Linked DNA regions of Homo sapiens: all the other regions are linked to region 4. Evidence: promoter capture Hi-C in human tissues and cell types (Jung and others, 2019). All regions are on one chromosome and are shown on one strand. The core of a region is centred on a gene start or on the middle of the fragment in contact, and the rest is flanking DNA. Distances in the headings are between cores, read along the strand shown.

Region 1 (2,926 bases), core at 238-2,737, 560 kb before region 4:
AATTATTACATAATAATGAGAGAAAACTGGTTTCTATTAAATGTATGTGAGGCAATATTGTGGTTTATAAAGGCATTTCTAAGATCGCTTCACATTCAGCTATATTTATTTTCTTGATAATTGTCCTGCATAGATTGATGTTTGCTATATATTCACTTACTTCTTTCCTTTTATGATTTTAATAAAACAGTTTCAAAAAATTTACCTCAATTCTGAAAGACAACACCATTAAAAAAGAAATTATTAAAAGGCAGAAATTATTGATTTAGGATACCAGATTAAAAGAATGAAATTTATACCATCTGACCACATAAAAAGTAAGCTGGTCTCTGCATACAAAGTGAAATAAAGAACTGAGACAAATTTATCTGCACAATAAAAGCTAAAGTATCACTTTTATCTATAATATTTAGATTATTTCTGTATTGTAAGATATTTCTATATTGTACTACATAAATAATTTCTCAAAGTCTGTCATATATAATGAGTTCCTAAATTGTCTTCCAGCTCCATATCTCCATGAGTTTATTTGAAAATGTTGATCCTGTTTTGGAGAAGTGAAACATGATAGGATCTAGTTGTCCATATATATATATAGCATAAAAGTTGGTTTATAAGCTAAGATGCTGAAAAATTAGAATTAAAACTTGTGGCTAATACAAAATTTAGCTTAAATAAATTGCTTCTAAGGAGCTGGTTACAAAAGGAAGATAATCCACCCATGTTTACTATAAATGAAACAGAGACTGCATTGATTGCTAGAAGATGATATACAACCTCTTTGCAGGCTGTGAGGCAAATCCACTTGGGAGTATCTTCTGTTCTGATAAGAGACCTTAAAGGTCCTTTGCCTGGGTCAATATAAATCATGGTTCTCATTCTGCTGGTTCCTTGTCTCTGCACCTAACTCCTCAACTCTTGTTGGTCTTTTGGTTCCAAAATTGTTGCTGCACTTTGGACTATTAAGATTATGCATTTTTTTATGGACAAGAGCTCAGCCTTGAACCTCTTGATCTCCTCCACATTGACCACTTAACTCATATGGGCCTTCATGTATTACTTGTCGACACATCTAATATCTTTGACCAATAGCTCCTAAGGACTACAAACAACACTTTATGTACTGATCATCATCTAGATACCCTATTATTTACAACAGGGCTTGCCAATAAGCACACTGGCATATGTTTTTCCCAGTTGCCAAAGTTTTCAATATTTATACCTAATTACAATGAGCTATCCTTGACAGGTTCTTATTCTGATTGAAAAACATGATGTCCTACACCCAGAATTATTTGTAGATATTTATCAGAATTCATGAACCAGCATTTGCATGACTTTGAAGTGTTAGATGCTGAGGCCAGAGAATGCTTATGTAATGATGCTTAACAACTAAAACTGTAACTAATGGGAGTTTAAATAGGTAGTGTAGTGACTGAACACCTCATTGCACTAGTAATATTTATTGATCTCACTATGTGGAAAACAACTTGGCTTTGAATCCTTGAGCTTCTAGAAAGGTCAGGAGGGACGAGAAAACCACCTAAGATCTGGGTAGTCACTGAGTTGTACTTAAATTTGTAAAATATGAGAAAATAATGATTGTGTCCTCCTCTCATAAAATATGAAAACCAAAACAAAACAGGGGTAGCAAAGTATGCTAAAAGTTTTATTGCTGCTGCTCCAGTCAGTAAGGCCCTGCCATTCCACACATGGAATGACCTGTTGTGATGGCCATTTGCAGACAAGATAGAAAAGCACAGGCAGAGTCATGTGGTGTCCCCTTTCTGCACCCTATGTGTATGTGGTACTCCTTCTCTTGGCACCTACACAAAAATCATTCCTGCGTAGCATAGAATTGGGTTAAGGTGAACTATTCTAAGGACAACATCCTGAAATCAAAGGAACAGATGTAGCAGCATTTCTCAAGTGACAGCATTCCACAATGATCACTTTCTAATCCAACCAGAATCTGTGTAGGCAGTTTCACTTATGTGTTTATACGTTACATGAATGAGTGATCTATTCCAAACTGCTTGTTCTTTTAGTATTTCTCTTTCTCCCTGAAAATAAAGAGTTGCTTAGGCCCAAGAGTTGACCAGATGGACTGCACAAAGGTGTGCTGATACCATTTGTGCAGTGAATGGAAGAGATGATTTCAGAGCTCTCCTATTCTCAAAGGATCTAGGCTTCCATCTGTTGGGAATGGCCAAAGTCAATCTTAATAGTCCAGTTTAGGTGTTGAATTCATTCAGTCACTTAGAGAACTCCCTATCAGGGCCAGTCTCTCATTGTTTTCCAGTTTTATATGACAATTTAGAGCCCCATGTGTGCAAAGCAGTTTGGGTCACAATAGGAAAAGTACACCAAACCTGCCCAAGTAATATCATTTTTGTTTTCTTAGAAAAGGGAAGAAAAAGAGGCATACTGTGGTTAATGTTTTCCTTAGGTGATAAATCAAGGGCAGAGACAGGAAGGGGACACAAGTTTTCTAGTTCTCACCTACAGCAATGCCAAGTAGTCACACAAAAGTTTTATTGCTTATGACAGCAGCCAAGTAAAAGAAGACAAAGCAAGAATCGGCAGCTTATGTTTTTACCATTACCAACACCCTTCCCACAATTGTTTTAAGCAATATGGTTTGATGTTAATCAACTCCTTAAAAGCCACCCATCTTTTTCTATAGCAGTGATTGTCTATTATTTTCTACAAACAAGTCCTTGCACAGTTTGACTAGGCTGGAATTAAGGAGGAATAGTAGATCTCCTCACCAATGTCCTGATTGCGAAAGTCATCATTGAGAACAGCCACAGGGAACTCATGGACCTGCCACCTCATTTGAAAGAGAATCTTTGTGTGAGCTGATGCACTCATGAGGAAATAAGGCTAAGGATAGGGAAAAAAAGACCAGGTGAAATATACATCC
Region 2 (2,924 bases), core at 177-2,676, 520 kb before region 4:
ACGAGGTTTTGCCATCCATGAGTTGCTCATAGAGAACCCCTTATGAAGCCATACTGTGAGCTTACAAAGAGGGACTGATGTCATGGTAGTAGGGAACACAAAGGTCTGGCCTGCCTATTTATGAAATATATTAGTGTCTTCTGATTCTATCCAGGCCTGATCCTAAATATGGCATTTTTAATCATATAATGCATTACTGTTGCCTTGCCTCATCTCATGACTTGGTGCAACTGATAACACATGGTTCATGATGGGTAGTTCTAATTGCATAGACAGTGAGTGAACCTTAGTGAGACCTTCAGTCACTAGGGTTAAGCCTGCCAGGAAGTGTGGTGGGGTTTTTTTGTTTTTGTTTTTGTTTGAGATGGAGTTTTGCTCTCGTTGCCCAGGCTAGAGTGCAATGGTATGATCTTGGCTCACGGCAACCTCTGCCTCCCAGGTTCAATCGATTCTCCTATCTTAGCCTCCTGAGTAGCTGGGATTACAGGGGCCCACCACTATGCCTGACTAAATTTTGTTATTTTTAGTAGAGATGGGGTTTCACCAGGTTGGCCAGGCTGGACTCAAACTCCTGACCTCAGGTGATCCGCCCACTGCGGCCTCCCAAAGTGCTAGGATTACAGGCGTGAGCCACCGCGCCCAGCCAGAAACTGTGTTTTTAACAAAGGGTAGTTGTTTCCCGCAGAAAGCAGGACCTTACTTCAGAACTCTATGAGTCAGCCCTGCAATTTTCCTATGGGAATCTGCCAAAAATGCCTTTATAGCATCCTTATCCATAGTGGATACATTTAATGCCTTCAAATCTGCTGGGTGATAGAGACTGAGCAGCAGAGCAACAGACTGCCTCAGCTGCAGAGGCCTCTTGTTCTGGACATTACTCAAATCTGGTATCCTGGAAAGTCACTCAAAAATGGGTCAAAGCTGTCATCTCAAGCACACTATATGATGACTCCAATATCCAGTGGCCCAAGAGGCAGATGATATAACAACCTATCCTTTACTTTAAAGGGAATGTCCCAGGGTGCCCATACCATTGGCATTGACATTATCAATGTGTATGTATTGGTTTGCCATTGCTGCATAACACACTGCCACAAACTTAATAGCTTAAAACAACACATTTTTATTTTCTCATAGTTTCTGCAGTTCATGGAGGAAACTAAGCTAAGCCCGGCTTAGCTGGATTCCCTGCTTCAAGGTCTTATCAGGCTGTAACCTACATGCGACTGAAGCTGAGGTCTCATCAAAGGCTTGGTAAAGTCCACTCCCAAGCTTCCTCAGTTTGTTGACAGAATTCCTCTCCATGCAGCTATGTGGCTGAGTTCCCATTTTCTTGCTGGCCATGGGCTAGGGGCCACCCACAGTTCCCAGAAGCTGCTCACAGTTTCCTGCCAAACATGGCCATTTGCTTCTGTAGGGCCAGTAGAAGAATACCTTTCTTAAGAAAGGGCCCAGTCCCTCTTTTATGGGCTTTCACCTGATTAAGCCTGTTTTAACTGGAATAAACTCCCTCTTGACTAACTCAAAGGCAACTTATATGGGACCTTAAATACATCTTCAAAGGCCTCCACCTTTGCCATAAAACAAAATCTAATCGTGGGAGCGAAGTCATTTCCTAGCCCGAGGTTATATGGCAGGTGTACATCAGGGACTGGGAGTCTTGGGGTCCAGTTCAAAATTCTGCTTACCACTGTGTATTCTGCCAATCTAAGCATGATGCCATTCATCTATTTTGAAAATACTCAGCCTTTGTCTCTTGAATTTATGCTTCTCACCCACATCCTCTACTTTTTTCCTCTGGAGTTCTCACTGGATATTCTCGGTGAACTCACCTTCATGTCTCTTATATGTTTAATTTTTTTGTGTTCCTGTGCTTCATTCCGGGTCACATATTTAAGTTTCTATTCCAAACCTGTATCTAGTATTCTCTTTGGCAATAAAGTGACTATAGAATGAAAAAGAGAAGGTCAATGTGACAAATGGCTAAGGAAAAGGCACAGCTACAAAATAAATGTTGATAAAAAGGTAAAAATTTGAGAAGCATATTTTAGAGAAATTAAATTTAAAACTTTATATTGTAAAAGAACATAAAATAAATTAAGAATACTAAATTTTAAAATAGGAAATATCAGTGTGAACTCATGACCTAAAATAAATATATTTTCCAGCTCAGTCACTAAAGCAGCCTATAGCTACATCATCTTCCCACCCACTGTTTTCAGGAGGAACATCAGATGGGTATCGTTAACTTTTTTGTTTTCTAAATACTATTCTCTATTAGATAGAAATAAATTTTCTTGCAGAATAGGAGAGCCCTGGTCTCAGAACAGGAAACAATGCAATATGGGCCCAGAATCTGTTTTTACTGCCGGAAAAGGTGAAAATTTCCCAAGTGTCTGAAGCAGTGGCGAAAGAAAGCCTGTTTAGAGCATGCAACATTTGGCCAGATTGTGACAAAGTAACAGAAAAAAATCAAGTCACTACAGCTAAGTAAAAGAGGTCAAGTAGATAAAAAGTAGAATCTTTAAAAAAAAAAAAAAAAGTCAAAAATAGTGTACAAAAAGGTAAGTTTACAGAAAGGGACATATAATAAAAATAAAGAATGAATAGGATATGTTTAGCACATTTTTATTATGTTTTATTACCAGAGAGTATTATCCTCATAGCTGTTAATTTTTTTTATAATAAGAACTTTTTTTATAATGAAGATAAGCATTTTTTTCTACATGTGTAAGAGGAAAGCGTGGGTACAGAAAACAATTTGCTGAAGGAAGAAGGACCTATTCCCATGCAATGTCCTTATAGAAAGAGAGGCTCAAAGAGGAAGATAATAGATTAGTTAAATATCTCAGAGGAGATGCTGTAGAGATTCAACATCTCATCACCTAGGTGATAAAATTCTGTATGATTTTAATAAAACATTA
Region 3 (3,059 bases), core at 213-2,712, 550 kb before region 4:
AATCTATAGATAAAATAAGAATCAGTATATACTGATATACATAAATAAGGAAAAATAAAGAAAGCGAGTAGAAGGTTAACTAATAAACATAGCGAAAAATGGTACAGTTAGAAAATCACCATTTTGCAGCCATTACAATTGATTGTAATAATTGATTCAGGCAAGAATCATCAATGGACACTAAGCCTAGTAAGTGAAAGTTTAATTAGAAACAGGATATTTACATACCCAAAAAGTATCTCTTCTTGAACTACTTTTAAGATAAAAAAGGAAAACAGTAATTTTAGAGTGGAGAAATTTGGTGTAAACTAAGTGATCGGGTATTAACCAAGTGATCAAAAGTAAGAGAAAAATGACTTCATGAGCCTTCTAAAATAACACACTGAGAAGGACACATCATTTATGCAGTAAAGACATAATTTGGACATAATTATGAGGAAACTTCAGACAAATCCAAATTGAGGGATAACTTATGAAATGAATGATTGGTATTCTTCAAAAATGTCAATATCATAGAGCAGCAGTTCCCAACCTTTTTGGCACCAGGGACCGGTTTCGTGGAAGACAATTTTTCCACTGCCAGGCTTAGGGGACGGGTTGCTCTTGGGATGAAACTGTTCTACCTCACATCATCAGGCATTAGTTAGATTCTAATAAAAAGCAGAAAACCTAGCTCCCTCACAGGCCCTGTTCACAATAGGGTTTGTGCTCTTATGAGAATCTAATGCTACCGCTTATCTGACTTAAGGCGGAACTCAGGTGGTAACGCTAGCCCACCAGCTGCTCACCTCCTGCTGTGCAGCCTGGTTCCTAACAGGCCACAGACCCACACAGGTTCGTGACCTGGGAGTTGGGGACCCCTGTAAAGAACAACAACAACAAAAAGGCTGGAAAATTCCTCCAGGTTAAAGGAGACTAAAATGACATGACAAAGAAAATGCAATGCATGATCATAAATTAGATTCTGGGATGAAAAAAAAAATGCTCTAAAGGACCTTAACTGTACAATTAGCAAATTTGAACATGTATTATAGATAAGATAAATGTATTTGATTAAATGTTGAATTTTGTTAAGTTTTCTGATTTTGATGATACTGAGTTAATATAAGAGATTGTTCTTATTCTTAGTAAATAAAGACTGAGACTGAAGTGTTTGTTGTTGTTGTTGTTGTTTGCTGTTGTTGTTGTTGTTGTTTGAGATGGAGTCTCGCTCTGCCGCCCAGGCTGGAGTGCAGTAGTGCAATCTCAGCTCACTGCAAGCTCCGTCTCCGGGGTTCATGCCATTCTCCTGCCTCAGCCTCCTGAGTAGCTGGGACCATAGGCGCCCGCCACCACGCCCGGCTAATTTTTTTTTTTTGTATTTTTAGTAGAGACGCGGTTTCACCGTTGTTAGCCATGAGGTCTCGATCTCCTGACCTCATGATCCGCCCACCTTAGTCTCCCAAAGGGCTGGGATTACAGGCGTGAGCCACGGCGCCCAGCCCAAGACTGAGGTATTTAAGGGAAGATGAATGTGATATCTACAACTTACTTTCAAATGAATTAAAAAAGAAATAATATATATTTCTTATATATTATTAGTAATATACATAATAAATGGGGGAGAGAGAAATGTCAAATAGAAAAATGCTGACAATTAATCTGAATAAAAGATATATGGGAATTTTTAGACTATTTTAGACTATTTTAGACAATTTTAGAATATTTTTCCAAATTTGAAATTATTTCAAAATAAAAAGATAAATAAGCAAACCACTCTACAAACCTCACTATGCATATCTTAGAAATTTTTACCATTATTCAAAATAAAGTTATTGACATAGGCACATTTTTCCATTTGTAATACATATGATATATGGAATGAACTGCGAATGATCTAAAAAGCTAGTTGGAAAATCAGATATAAAGTAACCAAGCCAATAGGCAATTTCCTTTTGTGAAATAAACACCTTTATTTCTGAAAATACATAATGAAGCATTGAAATGAATTTTCTTAAGTCTAGTTGCTGTACCAATAGTTTTAATAAACTTGTTCACTTCTTAGAAATTAAACAGAAAAAGAAAATACGTCACTCTTTCAGCTTGTGAATGAAATACCCACCCCTTGTTAGCACAGGAGGCTCCCCAGGACTAATGGCATTCTAGGAGAGGAGGAAACAATAAATCAGGAGAGCCTGTGGCCTAAGAGAGCTCTCTAGACACCTGTCTTCCTGGGCCCTGCTCCTTGGCTGAGGTGTCATGGTGCCCACTGATTTGCACACTATCCAAGGTCAGTCTCCTTCTCCTGGAAACTTCCTCCTATCCCCACTTCCCAGAATTCATAGATTTTATAGGCACAGCCATAAACTAAAAGCTTACAGACAAAATTTTGCCCCATAGACTTAGGCCCCACCTTACTGACGTCAGTGCTTTTATTTTTAATGGGCCAAAATTTAAATCTGGAAATTTTGACATAAAAAATCTAGATTTTTAACTTAAAAGACAATCTAAAGATCTGGCAACCCTGTGCCTGATTCTCAAATGAAACTATTTAGCTGGAGCTGAGCTACAGCAAAACCTTTCAGATTGGGGAACTTGCTGCTTAGCTGCAATGGTCTCTTCCATTCCTTATTATCTTACCCCAGGCTACTTCTTTGCTTATATCACTTACCTGGCCCCAGTCAGCGTTTAAGTTTGGGCCCCAAATCTGGGATAGACAAACAAGTTTCCACATGCACATTATTTGTATCATCCATATTTAACTTTGTATGAACCAGTTCATGTGATAAGTACAACAGATTCTGGTAACTAGTAATTTTAACCCTATCAACATAGTGAAATTCTATGGTAATTGTCACCTAGGGTACAGTTGAGTCATCAGCCATGAAAGGACTGTCACAACTAGAATAATGAGAAATCTTACATCTCTCTGGGTAAAAGGCTATTTTTAGAAGTAAATTTAAGCACAGTCTGCTACAGGTCAGTGGGTCCCAAAAGATCTGGGGATTAGCTGTAGGGAGGCTTTTAAAAATATTACAAATATTACAAATCCTTTGTTTCTGGTTTGCTCCAACAGAGAT
Region 4 (2,979 bases), core at 459-2,958:
AGTCATCAGCCAAAATCTGGGTGTTAAATAGCGCAGCCGGGGATCCAGCCGTCTTGGCCGCCAGATCCTTCTCCTAACCCCGCGGGATTCTGAGGAGACGTCCTGGAGCCGGCCCCCACCCAACCCGCGGGAAAGCGCAATCCTACCCACCGCCCCACACTCCCCAACCCCCTCCCGAGGCTGGCTCTTGAAGCCGCGGGGGCTGCGCGCGCACCTAGGGCCGCGCCCCCCACTACCCCAGGTCTATAGAGGCCTTTGCCCGAGAAAGGTGGGGATAGCGGCCCCTGCTGACAGCTCTGGAGAACAGCAGGGGTACTGATTTTTTCTTTTTTTCCTACCATTCTCCCTACCTTTTCCAGGTGGTGGTAGTGGTGCGGGGGGAATGGGTGTTGACCCATGTGCATTTATTCTTCGTGAAGCCTCTTAAGCAGATGTCTGTACTTAGAGAAGCGACCAAAGAGGGAACGTGGACTTATTAGTGGTCTTAGTCCCAATTAGGGAACAGGTACAGTTTCCAATATAAAGAAACTCGGCCTAAGTGGGACTGAGACCCCGATCTCCGCACTTGCTTTTCTCAGCCAACTCCATGACTAGTAAATATCTCTCCGAGAACTGCTGGGCCGCCCGATGTTACTTTGTTTAAAGGTTGCGACTAGGATCCGTACCATCTGCGAAGCCCCCTTGGGGAGCAAGAGCCGCGGCGCGCAGTTGATTTCGGGGCGCAGCGGCAGGGGGAGGGGAACGTGGTGTGGCCCGACGAGTTGGCACAAGCCTGTAACTGCAAGACTTTGTAGCTATTGAAAGTTCAAGTGGTGAAAGAAGGCTGTGCCTGCCATTCTTCATGTGATCATAACAATAGCGCCTTGGAAGTGGTTGCGATTTTCTTCTTCCATAAACCTTTTGGGTTCTCACTGGAATTGTATGCGTGTTATTTCTGAAGTTTACTTATTTCTAAGACCAGTCCACAAAATGTGAACTTCATTAAGTTTTAAAATAGATCGCCGTCGTTAAAAACGCCATTCTCTGCACTGTAGTTTATTTGCTTACTTCACATGCTTTATTAACGTGTGTATGTGCGTAATTAATAGCTGTGTTCTTATCTTCCAAGTGTATTTTTAACCGCACCGGCTTCTATCCAATTCATCTAACTACGTAGAGCGTCCATCGCTTCTGGAATCTACCTCTTGATAACAGTAATCAGAATCAGAAAAGCTCGCCGTTCACTTACCCTCATCCTTTAAAACTTTTCCATTTAAGAAAATCGATGAACAAAACCTTTCTTGTAACTCGCTCCTGCACTACGTCTATTTTTATTTATTTTTCTGATTTGGCAGGACTCAGCAATGCTGTCCGGGATTTTTTTTTTCTTTTTTTTTTTCCTAGCTAGAGCAGATGTGGGGGTGGGGGAGGTGAGGGCTGGGCTCCAGCCAGAGTCGCCCCCGCTGAGCCTCCGCCTAGCGCGCGGTGGGGCCAGGAATCCTGGTGGAAGGAAGCGGCGCTGGCCAGTTGGTCCAAGGCTCCACCTGCAGCCACACCGCGTAGTTTCTCCGCCTCTGCCTCGCTCACTCGCACTCACATACACCACAGCTCTCCTTTGGGTCGGAGGAGACGCCAGCCAAAGTAGGCGGAGTTGCGGAAGGAGAGTCCGATCTGCGCAATCCAGTCCGGGACTTGGCTCCGCCCGGGAGCGGCGGCCTCTCCGGTGACAGAGGAGTAGTGAGCGGCACGGGGTGAGGCTGCAGCCAACTCCGCTCCCCGCGCACTCGGCTGCCCAGGCGCTCGGAACCCAGCAGCGGCGCTCCTCCGCGGTGCCGGTCGCCCGCGATGCCCGCTTAGCAGCGTGTAGCAGCGGCCAGCATCACCACACCCGCGGCACCGCGCTGCCGGCCGCAGAGCCGGGCCAGAGCCTTGCACCCCTGCCCCAGCCCCCACCCCGCCCCCCGCCCTGAAATGACTTGTTAATCGGCGCAGACACCACCAAGGGGACTCACCGAAGTGGAATCCAAGTGGAATTTGGATTTGGAGAAGAGTTTCTTGAACATTTACCCTCTTCCTTGTTGGTTTTCTTTTTCTTTTTCTTCTTTTTTTTTTTGGCTTCTTTTTTCCTCTCCCCTTCTCCGCTCGTCATTGGAGATGAACACATCGCGTTTGCATCCCAGAAAGTAGTCGCCGCGACTATTTCCCCCAAAGAGACAAGCACACATGTAGGAATGACAAAGGCTTGCGAAGGAGAGAGCGCAGCCCGCGGCCCGGAGAGATCCCCTCGATAATGGATTACTAAATGGGATACACGCTGTACCAGTTCGCTCCGAGCCCCGGCCGCCTGTCCGTCGATGCACCGAAAAGGTACGCCCCGGGCGCCCGGGCGCGCCCCACCTCCCGGGCAGCTGGACTCCAGCCTGAGGGTCCCGGGGCCGTGGCTAGCGCGTGCTGTCGGCTTTGTGGTGCCTGCGTTTTATTTTGTCTTGTGTCTCTGTTTCCCGAGCCTTGCCCGGTCCTGGGGGAGCAGCCGTGAGCCCTGCCTGCCTTTCCTCTCTGCCCTGCGCCCCAGAGTGCGTCCGGCTCCACGTCGAGAGCTTTCCCACCCGCGTTGCGCACACGCCCGGCGCCGCCCCGGGCCGCGACGGCGCGTATGGCTGTTCCTCCTGGGGGTGTGTGTGCGAGACCCAAGGCTCATCCTCCCGCGTGCCCAGCAGGGAGCAGAGCGGGCCCTAAATGGTGGGATTCTCGGAAGCTCCCTGGCCCGGTGTGTCGAAGGCAGGGGAAGGGGTTCTGCCCTCGAGGGCTGGAGGGGGTTGGGTATAACAGCGCTGTTTTCGTCCAGTGCCAGGTGGGAGAAGGGGTTCCGCGGAGACGGTGTGGAAGCGGAGAGAATCTTTTGTTGTCAGTGTGGGGTCTGGGCTGGGCTCCGTGGAGTGCAAGAAACTTGTAATGGCTCTAGGCACCCGCGCGCCCTGTCTCTCGGTGAGATCCTGGCTC

Evidence for each region. The method cuts DNA at HindIII sites, captures the fragments that hold promoters and counts their contacts. A contact is called where the count stands out against the background at its distance.
Region 1: a fragment that was not itself captured here is called in contact with the fragment with the promoter of SEMA6A in region 4 in 1 of the 25 tissues and cell types used here (lymphoblastoid cells).
Region 2: a contact is called between a fragment that was not itself captured here and the fragment with the promoter of SEMA6A in region 4, in 1 of the 25 tissues and cell types used here (dorsolateral prefrontal cortex).
Region 3: a contact is called between a fragment that was not itself captured here and the fragment with the promoter of SEMA6A in region 4, in 1 of the 25 tissues and cell types used here (mesenchymal stem cells).

What each region holds. Positions count from the first base shown.
Region 1 is chr5:117,135,744-117,138,669 of GRCh38, reverse strand. No RefSeq gene overlaps it. Among named protein-coding and RNA genes, the nearest start is that of LINC00992, 280 kb to the left of the region's middle. The HindIII fragment of the contact is 6,383 bases long and covers 1-2,926 here.
Region 2 is chr5:117,098,325-117,101,248 of GRCh38, reverse strand. No RefSeq gene overlaps it. Among named protein-coding and RNA genes, the nearest start is that of LINC00992, 320 kb to the left of the region's middle. The HindIII fragment of the contact is 5,178 bases long and covers 1-2,924 here.
Region 3 is chr5:117,118,503-117,121,561 of GRCh38, reverse strand. No RefSeq gene overlaps it. Among named protein-coding and RNA genes, the nearest start is that of LINC00992, 300 kb to the left of the region's middle. The HindIII fragment of the contact is 7,552 bases long and covers 1-3,059 here.
Region 4 is chr5:116,573,552-116,576,530 of GRCh38, reverse strand. It overlaps SEMA6A (semaphorin 6A), which reads left to right and starts at 1,708. Exons shown (of 19, transcript NM_020796.5): 1 at 1,708-2,346. SEMA6A-AS2 (SEMA6A antisense RNA 2) reads right to left here and starts at 2,113. Exons shown (of 3, transcript NR_147170.1): 1 at 1,992-2,113. RefSeq lists a silencer at 1,873-1,952. The HindIII fragment of the contact is 11,240 bases long and covers 1-2,979 here.